Regions from separate parts of the Homo sapiens genome. Here all the other regions are linked to region 1. The links are contacts of gene promoters, found by promoter capture Hi-C in blood cells and fetal thymus (Javierre and others, 2016). All regions are on one chromosome and are shown on one strand. The core of a region is centred on a gene start or on the middle of the fragment in contact, and the rest is flanking DNA. Distances in the headings are between cores, read along the strand shown.

Region 1 (3,607 bases), core at 604-3,103:
TGGAGAAGTGTACGCCCAGGAATGTTGGCACGGCCGCTGTCCTCCCTGCTGTAAGGATGCCTGCCTTCTGATAGGGGTGCCTGCCTAGCTGTGAACTACTGCTGTGTCCTGCTGGGCCTGGCCCCTGGACAGCAAGGCTGCTGCTGGTGTGTGCTGGGAGGGGCTTTGCACCTGAGAACCTGCCCAGGGCAGCCTGGCTGTCGAGCAGACTGGAGAGGCTGTGGGGTGCTTGGACACTGTGGGGCAAACACAGGCCTGAGGGTGTGGTGTGAGTGTGCAGCACGCCGGCGGGTCTCCAGCGTCCGGCTGAGTGTGTCCTTCCACCATTAATGTCATTCTGGTTTTTTTAGATTTTGATGGGCATGAATGAGACCCAGCTGATTGCACTAAGTAAGTGTCCCATTTGGAGACTAGCTTATCCTCTAGCCAGGCCAGGTTCTCTGGCTGACCCCACGCTCCTTGCCTCTGGATGCCTGCTCTCTTGGGGCCTCAGCGTCTGGGTGGTAAGGGCTGGTCCTATAGACCCTGCTCCCTGGGCCCCGGGCTACTCAGGGGCAGCCAGGAGAGGACCCCCATGGGCAGGAAGAGCTCTGCTCATTGTGGGCTTCCCCCTCTGCAGGCCCTGCCGTGGGCCCAGCCCCTGCCAGCTTCCCCTATGGATATGCCTCTGCTCCCAACTTCGCCAGCCTCCAATGTACAACTTCCGCGTGTAGTGGGCGTTGTCACCACCCACCCTACCTGCAGAGTTACTAACTTCTCCAAGGAGCATGTCACTCCAGCAGCACAGGGGACGCAATGGGAGGCAGGGACACCTGGACAATATTTATTTTTGCTGAAACCCAATGACGGCAACCTCTGAGCCATCCCAGAGCCTGGGGAGGCCAGGGTAGAGGCTGACGGCGCAAGACCAGCTTTAGCCGACAACAGAGACTGGACTGTGGGCCCTCCTGCTGGAGCCAGGCCTTCCTCCTGGGCGCCTCCGACTGGCTGGAGCTGCCCCCTCCAGGCCAGTTTGAAGACTACATGAACACGTCTTGTTTGGAGGTACCGGACCTCATAAAAGGACTCTCAGCCTCTTGGCAATCATAAATATTAAAGTCGGTTTATCCAGGCAAAGGTGCTCTGCTTGGTGCTGGTATGGGTAGGAGGGACGGGCCAGTTTCCTAGGCCCCGCAGTCCATTAAAGATTTGCTGGGTCCTCTTTGGGGTGTGGGACCTCCGTTGCCCAGACAAGCTGCCTAGGAGAATACAGCCGCTTGCATTTGTGGTCTTTCCTGACCTTGTTCGCTGAGCGCAGAAACTACAACCGGGAAAGGTGTGGGTGGGAACCGGCAGGTGAGGCCCGGCCCGTGGCTGCTGCGGGAGGGGGGCCCGGCGGCGTAGCCCCTTCTCACCGGCCTCCCGCCTCCCGCCTCCAGGTTTGAAACGTTAGAGTTCCTCTGGGACTGGGCTAGCCCCACGTGTTTTCGGGGAGGGTGTGCCCCTGGCCTCCGGGATCCCTGGGGATCCCGCCGCTCTCGACAGTCGCGCAGACCCGAGGCCCGCTATCCCGCGGCGCGGCACACAGTGCACCTTGACCCACTGCTCGGAGCTGGGCCACGGCTCCGCCTCCCGCAGCCCCGCCCCCGTCCCGCCGCTCGCGGTCGCCCAGGGACTCGGCCTCGGCCATTGGCTGCGCTTTGGCCCCGCCCCTACGCCTGCCTCGGCGCGCCCCGCCCAGGCCTCAGTTTCCCGGCCCGCACGGGGCGGGCTGGGGGCGGGGCCTGGCTCGGACCACGCGGGGCGGGACCTGGAGCTGACGCGGCCGCCCCGCCCCTGGGACCATAACCGGCCGCCGCCGCCACCGCGGACCGAGCGCGGAGTTCTGGAGTCTCGGACCCGAAGCCGCCACAGGGCGCCCCGCCTCCCGCCCGCCATGCCCGCGCCCCGCGCCCCGCGCGCTCTGGCGGCCGCCGCGCCCGCGTCCGGGAAGGCCAAGCTGACGCACCCGGGGAAGGCGATCCTGGCAGGTGGGCCCCTCCGGGACGCGGACCCCTCTCCCGCCGCGCTTCTGGGTGGGCCCGGGACGCTGAGGCCCCGCCCCACTTCCGGGTTGGGCCGTGGGCTGGGGAGTCGTGGAGGCGCGGTCCTGGTCCCCACCCGGCGCGCTGGGACTCGCCCGCCTCCCGTCTGTCACCCCCTGCGCCTCGCCGGGACAACGGGGTGAGGGCATGGGGGCGTGGGGCCCCAGCCTATGTTCCCCGCGGCACTGGCGCGGCGGCCGCGCCGACCGAAGTCCGGGACGGGGGAGGGGCCCGAGCGCCAGCGGCCGGGCGGGAGTCTCAGGAGCGGGTTCCCGGTCCCTGCAGGCGGCCTGGCGGGTGGCATCGAGATCTGCATCACCTTCCCCACCGAGTACGTGAAGACGCAGCTGCAGCTGGACGAGCGCTCGCACCCGCCGCGGTACCGGGGCATCGGTGAGGAGGGGGAGGCCGCGGCGCCGCGGGGGGCGGGTACCCAGGGCGGCGGCACCGAGGGCCGTGGGGTCCTGACCGCCCCCTCCCCCAGGGGACTGCGTGCGGCAGACGGTTCGCAGCCATGGCGTCCTGGGCCTGTACCGCGGCCTTAGCTCCCTGCTCTACGGTTCCATCCCCAAGGCGGCCGTCAGGTGAGGCCCGGCCGGTGGCTGCTGCGGGAGGGGGGCTCGGCCGCGGCAGCCCCTCTCACCCGCCTCCCGCCTCCAGGTTTGGAATGTTCGAGTTCCTCAGCAACCACATGCGGGATGCCCAGGGACGGCTGGACAGCACGCGTGGGCTGCTGTGCGGCCTGGGCGCTGGCGTGGCCGAGGCCGTGGTGGTCGTGTGCCCCATGGAGACCATCAAGGTGGGGAAGGTCCTGGCGAGGACCCCGGACACGCAGGGAGTACGGAGACGGGCGGCCCCGCTGGCCCGGTGCTCCCGGGGCAACCGGCAAGCTGGGGAGGGTCTCCTGGACGCCAGGGAAGGCCGGCGGGGTGACCGCGGGGCCCTGGGGCAGGACGCCTGCCACGAAGGGCCACCCGTGGAGGCTGAGTCTATGCTAAAGGCAGCCTTAAAGTCTTTAAAAAATACTTTTATAAAGCAGAAAACAAAATGACACCTTCACTGCCAAAACTGGAAAAGAGCAGCAAACATAAAGGGAGAGGCTGCTCACAGGGCTGCCCTGTGTCCCAGAGCATGGTCCGTGTGGGCTGCCCTGTGTCCCGGGGCATGGTCCGTGTGGGCAGCCCAGGGCGGCCTTGGCTGCACTGCTTCCTGGGGAAGAGTTCCCAGTTCCCTCCACCCTGGATGGGCCCTGGGCCTGCCAGCTAGCCAGGACCCACCCAGGTGGCAGCCGAGAACCTGCGCCTTTGCTTCTCTCTCTCAGGTGAAGTTCATCCACGACCAGACCTCCCCAAACCCCAAGTACAGAGGATTCTTCCACGGGGTTAGGGAGATTGTGCGGGAACAAGGTGAGCCACTCGACCTTCCTGATAGGGCTCAGGGACCTGGGCCAGGGTGGGAAGGGCCTGCACCTCCCATCCTGCCTTGGGCTTTGTGCAACACCCACCCCCCACACACACCAATTCCCAACCGGGGCCTGAGAGGCT
Region 2 (3,607 bases), core at 440-2,939, 460 kb before region 1:
TGAGACCTTGCCAAAAAAAAAAAAAAAAAAAAAAAAAAGAAAGAAGGAATTGTGACACATGTTACAACAGGGATGAACTCTGAGGTCATTATGCTCAGTGAAATAAACCAGTCACAGAAAGACAAATACAAATACTGCATGGTTCCACTTACATGAGGTACCCTAGAGGAGTCAAATCCACGGAGACAGAAATAGAATGGTAGGCGCCAGGGGCAAGGGGAGGAGAATGGGGATGGGGAATGAGTGCTTCATGGGGATAGTTTGTGGTGGGAAGCTGAAGAGTCCTGGAGCCAGATGGTGGAGACGGTTGAAAAGTCCTGGAGACGGATGGTGGAGATGGTGGCACAATCTGTGGATGTGCTTAGTGCCACCCAATTGGTTCAAATGGCCAATGTTGTGTTATATGTATTTTACCACAATCTAAACAATTATTTGAAGTAAAAAATGGAACGTAAATGTGTGTCCTTTTTCTGAGGTGAAGTAGAGCAGCGCCATGCATGTGAGGTTACGGGAGAGCTGGGGTGGCAACAGGGGCCTGGCTACAGATACTAACGCTCTCTGGGCTCTTTGGCCGCGCTGTGGCCGACGGGGCAGCCCGTGTTGGCACTGAGGAGCTGAGTCACAAGGCGTCTCCATCGTGCCTATGGGAGTTTAACTTACAGAGGTGTCAGCACCCACAGAGAGTGGCCAGCGCCACTGAAAGACTTCATTATTCGTATTTCTGGAGAGGAGGGGCACACTCACCCCACCCACAAGGCCACAGTGGGTGACCCAGGTTGGGTCAGGAAGCAGAGAGGAGACAGGGAAAGCTGAGACCAGAGCCTTTCAAGGTGGGGCAGGTGAACAGCTCAGGACCAGCTGGTCTGAATAAGGCTGGCTGGCCAGGGTATAGGGCCATCCCTAGTGCCTGCTGCCTGGCCCTGTGGGATTCAGGGCCCAGGAAATAATGGCTTGGTTGTAAGAGTTAGATAGAGGGGGTGGTTGGGAGTATGGACTTGGGATGGGTTGGTCTGCATGTGAATAAACAGGCTCCCAGGCAAGTTGTTTATCATCTGTAGGATTTAGCTGTCTCTGGGAGGGACAGTCTCTTCCCAGCCAGCCTGGCCTCCCAAGATATCAAAACATCATAACATATAAACAGCATGATTATGCCAGGTGCAGTGGCTCATGCCTATAATTCAAGCACTTTTCAAGGCCGAGATGGGAGGATTACTTGAGGTCAGGAGTTCGAGACCAGCCTGGGCAACAAAGTGAGACCTCATCTCTACTAAAAATAGAAAATTAGTTGGGCGTGGTGGTATGCACCTGTAGTCCCAGCTACTCTGGAGGCTAAGTCAGGAGAATTACTTGAGCCCGGGAGTTTGAGGCTGCAGTGAGCTGTGATCGTGCCACTGCACTCCAGCCTGTGTGACAAAGTGAGACCCTTGTCTCAAAAAGAAAAATAAAAGTCATGATTAGTGCTCACTGGCCACCAGTCCACAGCATCTGTCTGAGCACCCTGGGAGTGCCCAGGGAATGTTTCTAAACCCTCAAGGGTAACACGTGTGAACAACTTGAAAATCTTTACTAGCAGGCCATTGTGCAGACAGATGATCTCTGATGTCGGCTGAACCAGCTCCTGGGCAGACAATCCCTGTCCATTTGACTCAGGCCACCTTGCCTCAGCTTTCTGGGCCTCGAGACCCAAAGTCCACGCACCACATATTTTAATTCATTTCCCTGTTAACAGAACTCCACTCACTGCCTCTGTGAACCTTGCGCCCCCCCTCCCCCAGCCCTGCCCTGCCTTGCACCCCATCAGCACCTTCCGGCTTCCTGGAGGCCTGGGGCCTTGCAGTGCCTCCTCCCGCACATTTCACTGAAGAGGGACTTGCTGGGTTGTGGGCTCCTGAAGACACCCCTGCAGGGAGAGGAGACTCTGGAACTCACCAAGGCCGTGGGCAGTCTCCTGGCTGAGCATGAGGTCTGCTCCAAGCTGGAAAAGCCTTGGCCAGCACAGCACCCTGGGTAGGAACTATTCCATGCCTGCCATTTGTATGTTAGGAGAATCACAAGGTCATCACCTGGCATGCTTAGGTTGAAAAAGAATAACTGCAAAGGGAAGAGGTTAGGAAAAGACCTACTAGAAGTGCTATGTCACCTTCCCATATTCAAGAGCAGGTGCCTGAGATTCTGCTAATTCATGGAGCAAGGAGCCTGAGACCCAGCCCATGCAGGATGCTGGTCCAGATGTCCCTGACTGAGTGCCAGAGCGAACACTGGCACGCTGCAGCTCCTGGCCACTGCCCATGGCTCCTACTCACTGCCTGGGGCCCCTGGCCACTGCCTGGGCTTCCTGTCCACTGCCCAGGGCTCTTGGCTGCTTCCCAGGCCCCCTGACCACTGCCTGGGGCTCCTCCTCACTGCCCTGGGCTCCTGACCACTGCCTGGGGCTCCTCCTCACTGCCCAGGGCTCCTGACCACTGCCTGGGGGTCCTGCGCACTGCCTGGGGCTCCTTTTGTGCCTCCTGGAAGAGCAAAGTCATTGCTTTTGTTACAAGTTCATTGTAGTCACAGAGGTTCCCATTTTTTTCAGAACTTTCTTCTGGATGCAGACACAGTGCTCTTCCTTCCCTGGGGTCCCTCGGGCCCTTCCCCACACATGCTCTGCCGGCATGGCTGAGGGTGCACAGGATGCAGAGCTGAGTGAAATGCACCCCCTGCCTTTGAGGTGCTGAACGTGGCAGAGAATCTCCCCCCCCACCCCCACGGTGCAGATGCTGCATGGGAGGACAGACATGGCACATGGCTGTCTGGCCCAAGACAAGGCCGTGGATGAGGCCTAGGAGAGAAGAGGTAGGGAGGGCATCGAGCTCGGCTTTGCAGACCAAGCAGGGTCTCACCGGAGAGCACGTGGGGCAGGAGGGAGTCAGCCTGGCCCTGTGGCCTCAATCTCAATTCTGTTCAGGAGCCCTCTGCTTAGCACAGCTCAGGGGTGTCAGGTTCGGGCCTCCACCCAGTTCGGGTGACCCCTGTCCCCTGCCAGTGACTGCTGAGGACACAGTTCTGTGATTCAGTCCTGTGCAAGCCATAGGGAAGCCTACCACGGGGCTTCTAGAATGTACTCTCTATTGACGAAGAGAGCCATGGGAAGAGATGGCCTCTTCTTCCTGGGACACCATCACATCTGGTGTGAAGACTGAAATGGCAGCTGAGGAAAGCCAGCTGAGGATGGCAGAGCACAGATACGAAGATACTCTTGATGTCGTCATGGGTCCAAAGAGTCAGGGGCCTCCCACCCTGGGCTTCCCCAATATGAGGCCTAAACGCCTTTGCTGTGTGAGCAAGGGAGGCGAGGTTCTTCCTGCTGCCATGGGCAGCCAAGCCTATACAGCAGACATGAGAAACAGATTTCCTGAGGCCAGATCACAGGTTGTGCAGGGGTGTGGCTAGGCACGGAAGCATGAAGTAGGGCAAGGTGGGAGGGACCCAGAAAGACCTGGGATCATGCTCTTTGGGAATCAGGACCCACAGAGGGCTGCTCGGGGCTGGCCTGAGCAGCGGCTCAGGTGGGAGGACGCTTAGAGACCTGGGGCTGTGGGGTCAGAGGTCACAGAGAGCAGGGACA
Region 3 (3,607 bases), core at 369-2,868, 440 kb before region 1:
CTCCTTTAAGAGGGCTCGCTGACGACCATAACTACTGAAAATAAAGGAACGTTTCCATGTGAAAGATGCTACTTCCAGAGGAATTGCACTTGACCCCTGGCAGGTGGGGCTGCCAGAGCTGTCTCGGGAGGTCTGCGGGGGTGGGGGGCGCACACACACACACACACACACACACACACACACACACACACACACGGGTCAGATGGGGAGGAGCATGGGATGGGGCTGTCAGCAGGAAGGGTGTGCAGGGGGCAAAGGCGTGTTGTAGGGTCTGGGCTCCTCATCACTGGAGGGGCCTGGGCAGCCTTGGACGCCACCACTTCTGCTTCTGGGAGGTTACAGAGGGATTCCAATGCTGAGCCCCCAGAAGTGACTCAACCAGGCATCCGTTTCTCCAGTCATCATCCTCTGCTTTGGAATTAAACTCTCCCAGGCCTTAGTAAGCAAGAAGACAGCCCTGCAGGTGAACTTGAGGGTGAAGGGCAGGGAGGGTGGAGGGGTTGGTCCTGCCCCCTCCAGGTCCTTGAAGGCTCCAGCTGGAAGCTGCTGGGGCAGGGCCGACTCTCCTGGGAATGGGACCCCACCCCACCAGGTCCAGCCCTTCACTCCTTTTCCTTGCCTAAACTTTTTAACGCCTCTGCCTGGACTTCTCTCGGCCCGAAGATTCCCATCCAGTTCACTGCTATTGTGCGCTGAAAAGCATTTCAGTTCCCTATATGACGCTTTGCTACCCCAACCCTGACTTAGCAGCGCCGTAAGCCACTTCGTAATGTCACTTCTGCCTCTGGTTTCCCTGTTTCTGTTATGGGACCCAGCTGCCTCATAAATGCTTCGCCTGTGATCAGACACAGTTGGGGCTGCCAAGGGCTCTCACCCCAGCAGGGCCTCACCAAACCCTGCAGAGAGGACCCCAGGCATCCAAGAAGAGGCTGGGAAATGCCGAGTGCCACCACCCTGCCGACACCCCACGCTGGCTTCAGGGCTGCTCGGTGTGATTGGTGACACGGAAGGGTGGTCATGCAGCCACACACATCCCCATGGGAATCCGCGGCAGAGGAGGGCAGGCGGGGCACGGGTACATGAAACAGCAGCCTTGACCTTGACTGAGATCGTGGTGATTAAAAGGGCAATTGAAACAATGGGGGGAAAGCCAGAACCAGGGGTGCGAGAATAATCTATCAGGACTCTTACCAGAGCCTTCCTGAAGGGAAAAAGAAATCCAGTAAAAACAAACTCTCCTTCATGGTGGCAACAATGAAACAATCTCGCTTCTCTTGCTCTCAATTTTATTGGCCTCCAAAGTTTCTGTGTTTCTAAAGATTAGCCTTCCCTTGGGAAGTTAGTGGGGGGAAAATAAGCAAATATTAGTTTCCCTCTCGAGAAGTCATTCTTTCGAGCCAGTTTCCCCAGGAGCTCTACAGGGCACAGCTTGTGAAACCTCATTCCAGGCCTTCTCAACTCAAGTGGGGGGAAAGGATTAACAAATATCTTTGAATTCCAGCAAGACAAAACAGGAATGGCCTCAAGCCGGGCTTCCTCCTGCAGCCTCTCCAAGGCTCCTTCTGCCTGGCCCAGAGTCACGGAGGAAGAGCGCCCGTCTTCACGGGCTGCCCTGGCGCTGCATCAGATCCGCCAGGTGGGCCGGGGACAAATCCTGATTTTCACTTCTGATTAGTAATTGTGTGCGAGAGATGTTCCCAGCTAAAATAATATACAATAACTTCCCTAGAGAAAATATACACAGTCAATTTTTGGAATCACTTAACACAACCCTTCACCAAGTGAATGTACAATTGGAACAACATAACACGTTTCCCATGTGGAAGAGAAGGGCTGGTACACGTTGACGTCATCGTGGGAGAGACAAATGTGCCGGTTTTATTAACCCCAGGCCACACGTAGGTGAGCAGTGGGCCATTGTTATGCAACCATTCAGTATTATTTTTCCATAAATCAAGGTAACGCCTAATGAAGTCCGAGTCTTTAAATCAAGCAGCCTTTTCCTATTTGGAACATAAAGTTGGGCTGTTGCCAGGAGCTCCGGGAAGCAGAGGGCCACAAGTAGCGTTTCAATAAGGAACGTAAGTGCCCATTCACCGGCACCGGATGCAGGCTGGTGGGTCAAGCCCACTCGCCAATATTGTCAAGTCAGTCTTAGGGGAGCTTCGCATTAGCACTGACAGTGATGGACTGCAGCTGGGGCTCAAGAGCAGCCCATGCGCTTCTGCTGGGAGAGGGACGTGGGGAACAGGCAGCTGTTTTGGCCTCCCGGGGCTGCCATCACAAAGTGCCACTGGCTGGTGGCCTCACCGCAGACCTTTATTGTCTTATATTCTGCGGGCCGGAAGTCTGGGATCAAGGCGTGGGCAGGGTTATGTCTTCCGGGGACCTTCTCCCGGGCTTGTCGATGGCCGTCTTCTCGCCATGCCCTCAGAGGGTCATCCCTCTGGGCATACCTGTGTCCTAATCTCCTCTCCTTTTTCTTTCTTTATTTAGTTTTAGAGACAGGATCTTGCTGTGTTGCCCAGATTGGAGTGCAGTGGCACAATCATGGCTCACCGAAGCCCCACATTCCTAGTGCTCAAGCGATCCTCTTGCCTCAGCCTCCCAGGCTCCCAAGTAGCTGGGACTACGGGTGCACCTCACCATGCCTGGCTAATTTTTAAAATTTTTTGTAGAGATGGGGGTCTCACCATGTTGCTCAGGCTGGTCTCGAACATCTGGGCTTGAGCAATCCTCCTGCTTTGGCCTCCCAAACTGTTGGGAGCCACCTTGCTAGGCCCTAGTCTCCTTTTCTTATAGGACACCAGTCATACAAGAGTAGGGCCCACCCTCATGACCTCATTTTGAATGAATTACCTGTTTAAAGACCCTCTCTCAGCCAGGTGCAGTGGCTCAGGCCTGTAATCCCAACACTTTGGGAGGCCGAGGCAGGTAGATCACTTGAGGTCAGGAGTTCAAGACCAGCCTGGTGAAATCCCGTCTCTACTAAAAATACAAAAAATTAGCCAGGCGTGGTGGTGCGCACCTGTAGTCCCAGCTACTTAGGAGGCTGAGGCACAAGAATCTCTTGAACCCAGGTGGCAGAGGTTGCAGTGAGCTAAGATTGCACCACTGCACTCCAGCCTGGTCAACAGAGCAAGACTCCGTCTCAAAAAAGAAAGAAAGAAAAAGATCTATCCAAATACAGCCATATGGGGTTGGGACTGGGTGGTTAGGAGTTCAACATAGGAACTTGGGAGGGAGGCCATAAATCAGCCTATAACAGGGGAAGCACAGAAAAATCTTGGCATCATTTTGCTGTTGTAAAAGAAAATGGAAAGGAAGGAAGGAATAGATATTGGGTGATTCCCGGCTGTTTTCCCGCCATGACTCAGCTGGTGCAGCATCTCCATCAGGCCAGCCCAGGCACTCCAGCATGGCCTGACCCTTGGACGGACAGGTGTGAGGGTGTGAGGGATGGAGGTCTGCATCCAAGACACCCCCAGAGACCCCTGAGGTGAGTGTGTGTGCAAATGAGCTGGCCAAGGGGCTGGATTTGCATTCTTGATGTTTTCTGCAGAGACAGAGCAGGTGGAGGAAGTGGGAGGCAGCTGGTGGGGAAAAG

What was found. The method cuts DNA at HindIII sites, captures the fragments that hold promoters and counts their contacts. A CHiCAGO score of 5 or more calls a contact.
Region 2: a contact is called between a fragment that was not itself captured here and the fragment with the promoter of SLC25A1 in region 1, in 1 of 17 cell types (erythroblasts). The highest score is 6.2, in erythroblasts.
Region 3: a fragment that was not itself captured here is called in contact with the fragment with the promoter of SLC25A1 in region 1 in 4 of 17 cell types (total B cells, activated CD4 T cells, naive B cells and 1 more); the score reaches 11.5 in total B cells.

Annotation. Positions count from the first base shown.
Region 1 is chr22:19,176,982-19,180,588 of GRCh38, reverse strand. SLC25A1 (solute carrier family 25 member 1) reads left to right here and starts at 1,853. Exons shown (of 9, transcript NM_005984.5): 1 at 1,853-2,009; 2 at 2,349-2,456; 3 at 2,548-2,647; 4 at 2,724-2,862; 5 at 3,385-3,469. The coding sequence starts at 1,916. It overlaps CLTCL1 (clathrin heavy chain like 1), which reads left to right. Exons shown (of 33, transcript NM_007098.4): 32 at 351-390; 33 at 620-1,116. The coding sequence ends at 370. RefSeq lists silencers at 1,257-1,356, 1,557-2,636 and an enhancer at 1,808-2,555. The HindIII fragment of the contact is 6,402 bases long and covers 1-3,607 here.
Region 2 is chr22:19,636,915-19,640,521 of GRCh38, reverse strand. No RefSeq gene overlaps it. Among named protein-coding and RNA genes, the nearest start is that of LINC00895, 72 kb to the right of the region's middle. The HindIII fragment of the contact is 4,348 bases long and covers 1-3,607 here.
Region 3 is chr22:19,619,497-19,623,103 of GRCh38, reverse strand. No RefSeq gene overlaps it. Among named protein-coding and RNA genes, the nearest start is that of LINC00895, 54 kb to the right of the region's middle. RefSeq lists an enhancer at 2,012-2,773 and a silencer at 3,124-3,418. The HindIII fragment of the contact is 3,998 bases long and covers 1-3,607 here.